Regions from separate parts of the Homo sapiens genome. Here all the other regions are linked to region 4. Evidence: promoter capture Hi-C in 16 types of primary human blood cells and fetal thymus (Javierre and others, 2016). All regions are on one chromosome and are shown on one strand. The core of a region is centred on a gene start or on the middle of the fragment in contact, and the rest is flanking DNA. Distances in the headings are between cores, read along the strand shown. Region 1 holds the start of USP44 (ubiquitin specific peptidase 44). Region 2 has its middle 18 kb from the start of USP44. Region 3 overlaps USP44 (ubiquitin specific peptidase 44). Region 4 holds the start of SLC25A3 (solute carrier family 25 member 3). Region 5 overlaps METAP2 (methionyl aminopeptidase 2).

Evidence for each region. The method cuts DNA at HindIII sites, captures the fragments that hold promoters and counts their contacts. A CHiCAGO score of 5 or more calls a contact.
Region 1: the fragment with the promoter of USP44 here is called in contact with the fragment with the promoter of SLC25A3 in region 4 in 4 of 17 cell types (non-activated CD4 T cells, activated CD4 T cells, naive CD8 T cells and 1 more); the score reaches 8.6 in non-activated CD4 T cells.
Region 2: a fragment that was not itself captured here is called in contact with the fragment with the promoter of SLC25A3 in region 4 in 1 of 17 cell types (total CD4 T cells); the score reaches 6.6 in total CD4 T cells.
Region 3: a contact is called between a fragment that was not itself captured here and the fragment with the promoter of SLC25A3 in region 4, in 1 of 17 cell types (non-activated CD4 T cells). The highest score is 6.2, in non-activated CD4 T cells.
Region 5: a fragment that was not itself captured here is called in contact with the fragment with the promoter of SLC25A3 in region 4 in 1 of 17 cell types (total CD4 T cells); the score reaches 6.1 in total CD4 T cells.

Annotation. Positions count from the first base shown.
Region 1 is chr12:95,550,027-95,552,726 of GRCh38, reverse strand. It overlaps USP44 (ubiquitin specific peptidase 44), which reads left to right and starts at 1,251. Exons shown (of 6, transcript NM_032147.5): 1 at 1,251-1,455. The HindIII fragment of the contact is 4,508 bases long and covers 1-1,539 here.
Region 2 is chr12:95,567,942-95,570,641 of GRCh38, reverse strand. No RefSeq gene overlaps it. Among named protein-coding and RNA genes, the nearest start is that of USP44, 18 kb to the right of the region's middle. The HindIII fragment of the contact is 4,783 bases long and covers 1-2,700 here.
Region 3 is chr12:95,533,044-95,535,743 of GRCh38, reverse strand. USP44 (ubiquitin specific peptidase 44) reads left to right here. Exons shown (of 6, transcript NM_032147.5): 2 at 1,418-2,700. The coding sequence starts at 1,488. Among named protein-coding and RNA genes, the nearest start is that of USP44, 17 kb to the left of the region's middle. The HindIII fragment of the contact is 2,195 bases long and covers 204-2,398 here.
Region 4 is chr12:98,592,241-98,595,067 of GRCh38, reverse strand. SLC25A3 (solute carrier family 25 member 3) reads right to left here and starts at 1,382. Exons shown (of 8, transcript NM_002635.4): 1 at 1,328-1,382; 2 at 933-1,093. The coding sequence starts at 1,089. RefSeq lists enhancers at 343-967, 1,291-1,390, 968-1,592, 1,641-1,860. The HindIII fragment of the contact is 3,126 bases long and covers 1-2,082 here.
Region 5 is chr12:95,510,395-95,513,187 of GRCh38, reverse strand. METAP2 (methionyl aminopeptidase 2) reads right to left here. Exons shown (of 11, transcript NM_006838.4): 9 at 1,190-1,293; 10 at 272-387. Among named protein-coding and RNA genes, the nearest start is that of METAP2, 38 kb to the right of the region's middle. The HindIII fragment of the contact is 4,818 bases long and covers 1-2,793 here.

The sequences.
Region 1 (2,700 bases), core at 2-2,501, 3.0 Mb after region 4:
TAAAAAGGGGGAGAAATGGACTCACTTCACAATTTTGCTTCCATTTATACCTAAACCCTGGGGCTCAGGGTTTCAGTTTCCAGTAGGCCTATGTTGGAAATTCACCTGCAAGGTACAAGTTTCCCTGACAGACCACCAAATAAACAATGGTCTTTTAAAAACAAATCAACTTTGGTACCATCTACTCAGCTGGCATTTACCTTCCTTACCTGCTACCAACCTCATTCTTAGAATTAAAGAAAAAAGGCGAATTCTAAAGCCCCTTCTACTCACTTTCCTCCACTAAGGCCATAGCTTACATCTGCTGCTCTTTTTTCCATACTCCTTTTTTCTCAACTCCTTTCTTTCATATTTGCCAGAAATTTAAGGTCGTTTGGGTTCCTCTCATTTAAAAAGTTCAACTGAAGTGTGTTGCTACACCTTAATCAAAAGTTTATGGCTGAGTTATTTAGCGTTTCTTTACCCACTTCCTCTGCTCAATCCTTCATCTCCTCATAACCATTGAAATGAATGCTATGAATATCTCAATGCTTAGCATGGTGCCAGGCATTTAGGTGTTGAAAAAAATGTTAAGCGAATATTAGTTATTAGGTAAGAGCATTGTCTGTAAAACTCTGAAAAGTCTTAAAAGTGATTCCTAAAATTTCACAAGCTCATAAATTCTTTAGTCTGCAATTATGATTCCTGAAATATTCTTCGATTCATGAAAGACTGGACTAGGAAATTCTAAAAATCGACATAAAGCATAAAAAGCCACTCTGAGGTTTATGAAATTTACAATGTTTTGTCTTCTTTTAATTCATTCGTACTTTTCTCTCAGGATACAAAGGGCAAAACTGTTTGTGTAGTAACTCAGAATTGAGTAGTTACACATCCATTAGGTTTCAGAATCGTTAAAATTTTATCTGGTTTAGGAAACTGCTTACCTTGGAAGGGCAAATTGCCATTTCTCTCCATCTGGGGATCAGGGAAGCAAGGGAAGCCCCCCTAAACATCACTTCCACGCTCCTATATTATGCTAAGGAACTTCTGGTTGATTCATTAGGCATTTCAGCAGTGTTTTTGGCCGGTACTAGGAACTGTGGAGAGGTATAGAAAGGGAGCAAGTGCACAGTCCCGGCCCCCAAAGAGGTTACGATGCAAATAGAAGCAGGCTCAGAACTCGGAACAAAAGCAGTGACTGCATAATAATGCACTGCTGGGGGTGGGGGATGGGGATCTGCACGCCCGGTTTGTGACTTCAGGAAAGCAGTTTCCAGGAGGTGAGAGTTTAAGCCAAACCTGAAAGAGGTTGATTTGTAATGATTTGCAGGGGGGCACTGGAGGCAGCCGCCAGGACTTTTCACTTAGGAGATCAGCATTTGCCCTGATGGAAACTGGGCGATCCTGCAGGGACTGACCTCTGAGTTATCCAAAGGCCGACCTGGGGAAAGACTGATTTTGAGGTTTTAATAGGTAAGTTTGGGGACATCATTGATGAAGGTGGGCAGGGAAGGAGGCTTTTTTCTTTTCTTTTTTTTAATGTTACAGTAAAAAGCTTAGATTCGATGAGACGGGTTAAAAAACAAATAGGAAAATTTAAGGAGAAGAATGACTATGATTGCTATGTAAAAATAAAATTGCAATAGAGAGGTTCTGGAGCTCAGGAAATGAGCTAGAGCATGCTATAATTTAGGCCTAGATAGTGAAGATCATGAATAAAATGGTAGCTGAGGAAATTTCAAAGTTGAATAAGTAGTAATAAGTATGAAGAAAAAGCTAAACTACAAACATCTGCTCTTTAATTACTAACACTAGTAATGAGAATTTGTCTCCAGCCTCTTCCCTTCCCACTCCGCACCTCTTCCTAGCTTACATCATTGTATTAAGGCATTTTATTGAAGACACTATTCAGCACTCTCCACCTATGCCTTACACAGCTTGCCTTTGCTTTTCTTCCCATTTCACTTTTTCTCTTCATTTATTCACATCATTTTAGTCCTTAAAAGACCCCGCCCAATTACTAGATCAGAGGGAGGCAACTAAGACTCTTCCTATCTCCCAAACGACCTTCCAGAATGGTTTTATGGCATTATAATAGGAAAGCAAGAGTTTTGATTTTTCTATTATTAATATTTTGCTTTCAAGGAATTACAGGAAAAACCATATTGCATGCCAGAAATACTTAAATTTTAAATATTTCATCTTAAGAGATGCCCTCATGTAATGCTTTTAATGCATTTGAGAAATTCAGGTGGTGGGCAAAAGTACAACATAGAGGTTAGATGTTTTGAGTGGGAGAAGTGCACTGGGGTCATTATTGAATCAGAATTATTATGCACTTAAATATATAGAAAAAAGAACAAAATGAGTATTAAACTATGCAAATTCATCCCTTTAATCTTTATTTGCATGACTACATTTTATGCAGTTGTAACCTTAATGTACATATTTGGTATTTTTTTCAAACATGAATTGATTAGACATTGTTGCTATTTTGTATCTATTTTGTTAACATAAGAACTTCCTGTGTTATATCAGATTTTTTTTTTTTTTTTTTTTTTCTGAGACGGAGTTTCGCTCTTGTTGCTGCCCAGGCTTGAGTGCAATTGTGGATCTAGGCTCACCACAACCTCCGCCTCCTGGGTTCAAGCGATTGTCCTGTCTCAGCCTACCGAGTAGCTGGGATTACAGGTGCCCGCCACCAGGCCCGGATAATTT
Region 2 (2,700 bases), core at 57-2,556, 3.0 Mb after region 4:
AGAAGTTGTAATAACTATTCCACAAAAAAGTCACTTTCATGCCATCTATAAGGTAAACTATAAAAGAACAATGGCTGGTCATGAGAAGACTTGCTTTCTAATTCCAGATCTGATGCTTGCTGTGTGGCTTCAGACAAGTCACTTAATACTATAATTTCCTCAGCTATATAATGCTAAGTATGAAGAAAGAGGATCTGTATGAAAATCCTTTGCGAGGTAGAAATTGCTCTGCAATGAAAAACATCATTACTAATGCATAATTCTTCTTTTCCTCATTCCATTTATATTGGAATAATGCCATTAATATATCTTTGGGATAACTCATATTTCTCTCTTCCCTCCATTGATTTATTCATGAAATGACTGAAGGCATTTTGGTAGATAAAGAAAAGACAAGTGACAATAACCTGTTACAGGATTAAAGCCAAATGGCTGTGTAAAAAAGGGTACATTAAATGATCAAATCAAAGACTATACATTTGCTATTTGTAAGACAAATACTGCATCTTTATGGGTTTTCAGATCCATCAGTTAAATAACAAAGTAGTGGTATAACATACTCAAGAGGTTTAATATAACATTAAATGAAGGCTGACAACCATGAAAACCATTTATCATTGTATTTAAACCACTAATTTCAGATTAAATTTAAAACACTTAATTCCTAATTGTTAGCACTGACATGCCAACAAAAATCTTAAGGAAATATTTTGTAGCTAGATCACACCATTGTTACACATTTGCTTGAGAAAACAAAGTATGTATGTAATTAAAGTATGTAACTAAATCCTACCTTATCATTATGGTGCCTTCAATAAGATCCACTCTGCCAAAAATTGAACAATTTATAATACATAGTTTAATTGGAAATTTTTATTGTCATCTGTCAAATTCTGAGACTATACTTTTTGATGTAGTGTATGTGGTTAGAGCATTCTCTGAATAAATCCAAGGTTGCATGGCCATTCTTACAGGAGCCACTTAACTTGAAAAGGGAGAAAAAAAAATCAGTGGCATATCACAACTTGCTATCTAGCCACCTTCTCTGATTTTGGTGAAAGTGATTCAAAGGTGACCAGGTAATTGTAAATGGACAGCCTGGGTAGAAAAATTACTTGAAATGACATCTTTCCAAATGTACAGTACTTCCCAAAACTACAGATAAATGGAATAAAACAAAGTCTAGTTAATCTAAATATAAACAACATAGTATGCTGTGATCCAGTTAGAAAAAACTTTTTCTTCTTTTCCGTTGCAAAATCTAACATTTCCCAGAGCAGATCCTGTTCTGGTGTGTGAATTTGAACCCGTTGATTAAATTTTGAGCATGTTTCCTCAACTGTAAAATGGGGATAATAATACCGATCTCCTCAGGGTTGCTGTGGAAATTACAGTAAGCAGTGAAGGAAAGATGACTACTAAGTAAAAGGAGTAACAATTACAGTAGGAGCAGCAGCAGCCACAGTTCTCATTCTGTCCGGATGCATCCAGGATGATGTATGGTCTGACAGTGAAAATGAAGAGAATGTTTCAAGAAAAGAAGCACGATCAGCGTTGGCAAATAGTGAAGTAAAATCAGTGGCTTTTGAATTTGACAAGAAAGGAATTGTTGGTAGCTTTGTTTCAAGAGAACATTTCCAAAGCAGTAAGAGGGGAAGCCTCAGTGTAGGCAGCTAAGGAAGAAGCAAACATAAAGAAAATGGAGGCAGTGGCCGGGCGCGGTGGCTCACGCCTGTAATCCCAGCACTTTGGGAGGCCGAGGCCGGCGCATCACGAGGTCAGGAGATCGAGACCATCCTGGCTAACATGGTGAAACCTGGTCTCTACTAAAAATACAAAAAATTAGCCAGGCAAGGTGGCGGGCGCCTGTAGTCCCAGCTACTCAGGAGGCTGAGGCAGGAGAATGGCGTGAACCCGGGAGGCGGAGCTTGCAGTGAGCCGAGAGCCGAGATTGCGCCACTGCACTCCAGCCTGGGTGACCGAGCGAGACTACGTCTCAAAAAAAAAAAAAAAAAAAAAAAAAAAAAGACAGAAAAGAAAGAAAAGAAAAAGAAAACAAAATGGAGGCAGCAGGTATAAACCGGAGGTTTTCAACATTTTGTATTCACCAATAACTATTATAGAGTCATGATTTTAAAATATCAGAGAAAGGCTGGGCGCGGTGGCTCATGCCTGTAATCCCAGCACTTTGGGAAGCCGAGGCGGGCAGATCACTTGAGGTCAGGAGTTGGAGACCAGCCTGGCCAACATGGTGAAACCCTGTCTCTACCAAAAATACAAAAAAAAAAAAAAAAAAGAGAGAGAGAGAGAGCCGGATGTGGTGGCGCACTCCTGCAGTCCCAGCTACTTGGAAAGCTGAGGCGGGAGAATCAGTCAAACCCAGGAGGTGGAGGCTGCAGTGAGCTGAGATTGCACCACTGCGCTCTAGCCTGGGTGACAGAGTGAGATTCTGTCTCATAAAAAAAAAAAGAAGAAGAAGAAGAGAGAGAGAGAGAGAGAAATGTATGTTTCTGAACTTTTTTTGTTTTTTGTTTTTTTTGAGACGGAGTCACGCTCTGTCGCCCAGGCTTGAGTGCAGTGGTGTGACCTCGGCTCACTGCAAGCTCTGCCTCCCAGGTTCACGCATTCTCCTGCCTCAGCCTCCCGAGTAGCTGGGACCACAGGCGCCCGCCACCACGCCCAGCTAATTTTTTTGGTATT
Region 3 (2,700 bases), core at 52-2,551, 3.1 Mb after region 4:
TTAAATCAATGAAAAAAGTGTTTGTGATCACGGCTTTTTAAATAAGATTTCTGTTCATTACATGTAAATAACTTACAGCAGAAGTGTTCCTGACTTTAACTGATAAAGGAACAAGTTCTGTGTCAAAAATCACATAAGCTTTTTTAAAAAAATAAGCTTATAATTTCAGATAGGTTTAGGCCTGCTAGAATGTAATAAAAGCTTATTGCCACCCACTTCATATTCTTCCTTTTTTTCTCTTTATTTCCTTGTATGTTTCTGAGAATATTCAAATACAAAAGCACATTCTCCTCTTCTGTCTTTCTCTTTCCCTAAAGCCAACTGTCAAGTCTGTTCGGCCTCAGAGTATGTTATAGAGCCATGAATTAAAGGTAATTATTGATTTACCAAATGGAAAAAAATAAGTTTAATGGTAATATGATTTATTTAAATAGGGTAATAAGATTCGTTCACTATAGATACAATTAAAACTACCATTTACCATGTGTCAGATAAATATTATCTCTCAGTTCTTCAACAACTCAATTGAAGTTGGTATGATTTTCCCTCTTTTACAGATGGTTTAGAGAAGTTAAAACATTTGCTCAAAATCATACATTTAACAGTGTGTGGCAAAGGTACAATTCAAACCTATGTTTTTCTGCCTTAAAACTCACCTTTTCATCTTTGATTATGTTTTATTAACTCCACATAAGGCTCATAATGTTTATAAATATTAGTGAGATATATTTGGGTCTTGCCAACCCCTGTCATTAAGAAAAGGGGCCAGGCACAGTGGTTCACGCCTGTAATCCCAGCACTTTGGGAGGCCAAGGCGGGTAGATGACCCGAGCTCAGGAGTTCAAGACCAGCCTGGGCAACATGACGAAACCTTGTCTCTAGTAAAAATACGAAAAACAGATTAGCTGAATGTGGTGGTGCACTCCTATAATCCCAGCTACCCGGGAGGCTGAGGCACAGCAATCACGTGAGCCCAGGAGGCAGGGGTTGCAGTGAGCTGAGATCGCACCACTGCACTCCAGCCTGGGCCACAGAGCAAGACTCTGTCTCAAAAAAAAAAAAAAAAGGGAATGCAGTTTTGGAAACTGCCCTCAGACTACTGGGTAAAAAAGGATAGATCTTAAGCTATTTCAGTGGAAAGTGATTACTACCCATTTTTCACCACTAGATGGTGGCAGAAAGTTAAAAACAAAAGCTAAAGGCGCCTCATTAGAGAAAGTGAAGTGTCTGTGCTTTCAGAGCAAGGTGGATGTGAGGTTAGGGAAGTTTAGAGAAAGGGAAATGGGAGAACTGCCAATGGTATTATGATAAGCAGCCTAGAAATTGGGAGCAGAGGACACAAATCTTTATTATTCTTGGGAAAAAATATGAAAAATATTAGCATCTTGTTATTAACACTTGACATTGTTCTGTTTAGTTTTCAGATGCTTCAAGTGTTGTGAACAGAGACTTGTTTGGATTATGCATTTCTCAGCTAGACTAAATAAATGCTAGCAATGGATACGTGCAAACATGTTGGGCAGCTGCAGCTTGCTCAAGACCATTCCAGCCTCAACCCTCAGAAATGGCACTGTGTGGACTGCAACACGACCGAGTCCATTTGGGCTTGCCTTAGCTGCTCCCATGTTGCCTGTGGAAGATATATTGAAGAGCATGCACTCAAGCACTTTCAAGAAAGCAGTCATCCTGTTGCATTGGAGGTGAATGAGATGTACGTTTTTTGTTACCTTTGTGATGATTATGTTCTGAATGATAACACAACTGGAGACCTGAAGTTACTACGACGTACATTAAGTGCCATCAAAAGTCAAAATTATCACTGCACAACTCGTAGTGGGAGGTTTTTACGGTCCATGGGTACAGGTGATGATTCTTATTTCTTACATGACGGTGCCCAATCTCTGCTTCAAAGTGAAGATCAACTGTATACTGCTCTTTGGCACAGGAGAAGGATACTAATGGGTAAAATCTTTCGAACATGGTTTGAACAATCACCCATTGGAAGAAAAAAGCAAGAAGAACCATTTCAGGAAAAAATAGTAGTAAAAAGAGAAGTAAAGAAAAGACGGCAGGAATTGGAGTATCAAGTTAAAGCAGAATTGGAAAGTATGCCTCCAAGAAAGAGTTTACGTTTACAAGGGCTCGCTCAGTCGACCATAATAGAAATAGTTTCTGTTCAGGTGCCAGCACAAACGCCAGCATCACCAGCAAAAGATAAAGTACTCTCTACCTCAGAAAATGAAATATCTCAAAAAGTCAGTGACTCCTCAGTTAAACGAAGGCCAATAGTAACTCCTGGTGTAACAGGATTGAGAAATTTGGGAAATACTTGCTATATGAATTCTGTTCTTCAGGTGTTGAGTCATTTACTTATTTTTCGACAATGTTTTTTAAAGCTTGATCTGAACCAATGGCTGGCTATGACTGCTAGCGAGAAGACAAGATCTTGTAAGCATCCACCAGTCACAGATACAGTAGTATATCAAATGAATGAATGTCAGGAAAAAGATACAGGTTTTGTTTGCTCCAGACAATCAAGTCTGTCATCAGGACTAAGTGGTGGAGCATCAAAAGGTAGAAAGATGGAACTTATTCAGCCAAAGGAGCCAACTTCACAGTACATTTCTCTTTGTCATGAATTGCATACTTTGTTCCAAGTCATGTGGTCTGGAAAGTGGGCGTTGGTCTCACCATTTGCTA
Region 4 (2,827 bases), core at 133-2,632:
TCAAAGTTTATCCCAGCCACTAACCAATACTATCCCCACTTAAGAACTCCTGTAACATAAAAACGGATACGCACAAATTCCTGCAGTCAAATACATTTAATACACAAATAATGTTAGCTTTAACTTTTAAACTGAACGACAGATAGTGTAAATAAGGACTCTATCCATACTAAAGACAACAGAAGCACATGAATGATTTAAAGAAAAAAATCTTTCGATTTTACAGGCACAAGGTAGATAACATTCTTAGGACTCCTACAATTCGGTTTTCAGGTTTCTCTGTATGTACATACTTCACTAGGATTTAAAACACACACAACTAAGTTAAAGCTGGGCCCAACCACCAAGAATCCCAAGAGATAATCACACCAAAGGGACGCCCACCAATTATCTCCTTTCTATTGCCTATGTAGGGCTGCAAGCTGCCTCCTCCAGTCGCACGAAAACAGGACATCTAGTTATCTCATATACAATTAAGTGCAAAAATGACTGACCTGGCGTCGACAAATATAAAACTTAGGAAAGGACTATTTTTAAGAAAACTAAGGGCAAATCAAAGGACAGGTAATATAGTTAGTAGAACTGTGGGTGGTCAGTAGTTTCGGGAGGAGAGTTTACCCAGTACTTAGTTTGCTGACCAAGCGAGCTCACGGCGGAGAAAGAGCTAGTCACGGCCTCTCTTCCCTCGGGCACACGGAGGTCACGAAGGGACACAGGGCCTCAGCGCTTCCACGCCCTTGAGGGAAGGCCAAGGATCTGACACCCGCCTATGGTGGAAAAGGCCGATACCCCAGGGCAAGCAACTGGGCGCCGTCCTACGGTGCAGCGGGCTGGACTCGTCCTTCCCTGTCCTCCAAGCCGGGTCCAGGCCTCAAAGGCTGGGCGGCCCACAAGTAGACCACACGACTGTATTGGGCAGGGTCTGATCTCACCTTCCACGGCGGCGGCTGCCAGGTTGCGAGGGCGGCGGGGCTGGCCCGTGGGCCCTGGGGAGCTGCTGCGGAGGTCCCCGAGACCATCGTGCACCAGCTGCAGATGTGGCGTGTTGAAGGGGTTCGCCCGCGCCAGGTGCGCCACGGACGAGAACATCTTTCTAGGGGAGGAGGGAGCGACGGTTAGAGGACAGGCAAGGCGCCGGTTAACGTTACCGGCGCCCTGGAACCCCAACCGGGGCCTTTTCCTTCCCGTCTCCACGCCCTTGAAGAGGTCACGGCGGCCTTCGAAAGAGGCTGCTCCCGGCTGGGCCCACCGCCAAAGCAGCGGCCCCACAGGAGCTCTGGGCTCCGCTCCCCACACCCGCCACAGGAGAAGGCCCGGCCACACTCACTCCCTAAGATGGCGATCACACAACCACTCCCTTGGAAAGGTTGCGGCTCACAGAGGCCGGACGTCCTCCGGGTCCTAAGATGTGTGCCCTTCGCGCGTCGTCGGCGTGACGCACACAGCGCGCCACTGCAAGTACGCGTCGCCCATTGGTGGAGAAGAGCGCCGAGCCCGTAGCGTCATCGCGTTCTCCTAGCAACCTTATTCCCGCCCCTGCCCGCCCCAGCTCTTCCGCCCGGCTTGTGCGCGGGAGGATTCGTTCTGCGCAGGCGCGCGTTCCGGGTCTATATTTTTTGAGAGGGGTCGGGCTCGAGCTCTTACCCTGCTCGCTTTGTCCCTTCACCTTCAGGTGTCTCTCCTTGACCACGGGCTTCAGTTCGCTTCACTTAAGTGAATCACAGTATCTAGTAGTCACTTAAAAAACAAAACAAAACGCGAATGCTTGATAATATATTTAGGTGTTGGAGTTACAACATCACTGCAGTACTTTGTGTCACAACTTCTGCCATTACAGTACTTTTTAAAATAAGTTCCATCCATTGACATTAAACATAGGTATGTCTGTATTTTTCATCAGACTCCTGGAGAATATTTTAAAAAGAAATGTGCAGCAAGAAGTCTTACGACAGCTTGCCGCGTTATCACAGTAATCTACAGAACACGTTGAAACATTGAACTCCTGAGATGTTACAGCGATGAACTACTGAAAGTGACTGATAGCAGATTGTGCGTGTGTGTGGTTAATACATTTAGGAAGCTTTCATTAGATTCAGCTCAACAGGGAGGGGCGTAGTTTAGTTGGGGAGAGTTTAATAGGGATTCAACCTGTTAGACTTCTGACTCTTATATTTTCCAAGCTCTTGACAAAGTAACCTTGGGAATTTACTTCATCTCTGTGTACCTGTTCCCTAGATGTAAGATAGGGGTGGGACTGGCCTCATAGGTTCACACTGGTACAGTCACACATGGCCTTACACTTCATTTAATGCTCTGCTGTCATTTTGATTTTTTTTTTTTTTCTTTTGAGATGGAGTCTTGCTCTGTCGCCCAGGCTGGAGTGCAGTGGGGCGATCTCAGCTCACCGCAACCTCCGCCTCCCGGGTTCAAGCGATTCTCCTGTCTCAGCCCCCGGAGTAGCTGGGACTACAGGCGTGCACAACCACGCCCGGCTAAGTTTTCTATTTTTAGTAGAGACAGAGTTTCGTCACGTTGGCCAGTCTGGTCTCGAACTCCTGAGCTCAGGTGATCCGCCCACCTCGGCCTCCCAATGTGCTGGGATTACAGGCCTGAGCCACCATGCCCGGCTTGAAATTCTTAATACATGTATGAACAAGGGGCCACGCTTTTTTTAGTTTGCACTGGACCCTGCAAATCAGGTGTCTGGTTCTGGATGGGAGTAATACTTACCTTGCAGAGTCTATGAGAACTCAATGAGATAATGTCTAAAAGTCTACAGAAGATGTTACCTAAAAAAAGTTAGCATTGGCCGGGCGAGGTGGCTCAC
Region 5 (2,793 bases), core at 261-2,760, 3.1 Mb after region 4:
CAAAATAATCTCTGACATTTATGATTATCAGAAACCGGACTTGAAGAGAGCACTTGTGTGTGTGTGTGTGTGTGTGTGTGTGTGTGTGTGTGTGTGTAATTTTTATCTCAGTTAAAATGTTTAACAGGCTATTTTTTTTTCTTATTGTTGGGCTACAGAACTCTACATTCATGAATATACTATTTTGTATGTATGCCACATTTTTTAGAAATGCTGTTAACTCAGAAGAGATGCTAATTAGCCACATAAAATCAATCGTCTCGTCTCTCACCTTATTGGCACATGTCCAACATCAAAATTTTTCATGTAATGTGAACATTCCATATCATCATGAACAACACCTTTTCCTGTACTACCAAAGGTTTCAATTGCATATACTTCTCCTTCCTGAAAAATAAATAAGGGTCAAGGGGAGAGAAAGAAGAAAAATTCAGAACGAATCACAATTACCATCTCTCTTTCTCTCTCTCTCTTTTTGAGACAGAGTCTCTCTCTGCTGCCAGGCTGGAGTGCAGTGGTGAGATCTTGGCTCACTGCAACCTCCACTTTCCAGGTTCAAGCGATTCTCCTGCCTCAGCCTCCCGAGTAGGTGGGACTACAGGCACGTGCCACCATGCCTGGCTAATTTTTGTATTTTTAGTAGATACAAGGTTCCACCATGTTGGCCAGGATGGTCTCAAACTCCTGACCTCACTCAGGTGATCTGCCTGCCTTGGTGTCTCAAAGTGCTGGGATTAACAGGCCTGAGCTACCGAGCCTGGCCTACAATTACCATCTCTTGAAGTCTCTACCTGATTAAGCAGCAACATGAAATAGCCCCTGGCGGTCCTTATCTAGCCTTGCCCTGCTTTATCTCCTTAGCACTTTTTGGTCTTTCTGCTTCCCCCTATGAATTATGTTCACAGCTCTACCCCTAGAGCCTACTATAAAGAGACTGGCACCTGAGAATGCTCAATAAATATTCATTAAATGTTGAATAAACAACCCTTTCACAGCCCCAATTTCCACAACTGATTTAGTGCTGACTATACACAATTTGCAAATTCAAATGGCCCAATTCCTGGCAGGGTGAATATGGATGATAAGCAGCTAATTCTGGTCAGTATAACCATATATTTAACTACCATGACCTTCTGCTTGGAAGAAAAAAATGTCTTCCATGGAAGTAAAATGTTAGTGACACACATACCTCCATTCTTGTTGCCTCCCCTCCTTTCACAATCGGCACTGTTTTTCCAGCATGTATTCTATATTGCCCAATTGAATGTCCATTTAGATTACGGATTGGTTTCACTGTTATAAAAAATAGGGAAATAAAAGTCATTCAGGATCTCAAGAAGCAAAAACAGATCTCTTACATTTTGGTACAGAGTTCAAGCATTTATTCAAAAACCAGGTATGGCTTTACTAAATAACCTTACATTAAGGTAGTTTAATATAAACTGGAATCTAGTGGAATATAAAAAGTAGTTGCAGTGTTATTAATACTAGAAGTAGGCCAGGTGCAGTGGCTCATGCCTGTAATCCCAGCACTCTGGGAGGCCGAGGCAAGCGGATCACCTGAGGTCAGGAGTTCGAGACCAGCCTGACCAACATGGCGAAACCCTGTCTCTACTACAAATACAAAAATTCGCTGGGTGTGGTGGTGGGGGCCTGTAATTCCAGCTACTCAGGAGGCTGAGGCAGGAGAATCACTTGAACCCGGGAAGCGGAGGTTGCCGTGAGCCAAGATCACATCACTGCACTTCAGCCTGGGCGAAAGCAACTCCGTCTCAAAAAAAAAAAAAAAAAAAAAAAACGGTGCTAGAAGGGAGGATGGAAGAAAGAAATACAGGATTAAGGGCACAAGGGAGGTCATCTAAGGAGGTATAAGGAGGTACTGTTAACAACAAATAAAATGCCATGTACACAAATTATTAGAAACATAAAAAATACATATTTGTATTGTTACAGACCAAAAGATAATGTGAAAGATACTGTTAATATGACAGTATTATAAAACTTTATATCAACATTTCAAATGTTCAAAAAGAAAACCTATGTGGCTGAGACACAGTAATTAAGAAATAGAAGTAAGAAAGAAGAAAGAAAATCTAAACATCCCACTGTCATGACAGCAAGGACAGAATAGACAAATTGTGGCATATTCACGAGGGAATAACATTCAACAATCAAAACAAAAAGCTAGGAATACATTTAACAACTGGAATAAAACGTCTAGCTTTTTTATTCCAGTTGTTTTAAAACTGACAAAATGAGCAGAAAAAGGCACAATTACATATATACTGTACAATTCCACATATATATAATAGTTCAAAATTAGGCAATAAAACTAGTTTAGGGATGCATAATTAGGTAGTAAAGACATAAAGAAAAGCAAATGAAAATCCTTTCATACTTGCAGTGCTGATAAGCTAAATATATTTTAAAATTCAGACATCATTACTATTTCTCTAAGACCTGGCAAACTGACCCCACAAGCCAAGATGGTGGCTCACTAGAGGCAGGCTGCTGTAATTGGAAAGCAGTGTATTGCTGCTATGGTTTGAATGTATCCCCCAAAGGTCATGTATTGGGAATTTCATCCCCAGTGTGATGGTGTTGGGAGGTGGGACCTAACAGGAGGAGTTTGGGCCATGGAGGCACCACTCTCATCAATGAATTCAAGCCATTATCTCAGGAGTGGGTTCCCTGTAAAGGACAAGTTTGACCATTTCTTGCTCTCTCTCTCAAACTTCTCATTGCCCTTCTGCCTAATGCCATAGGATGATGCAGCAAGAAGACCTTCACCAG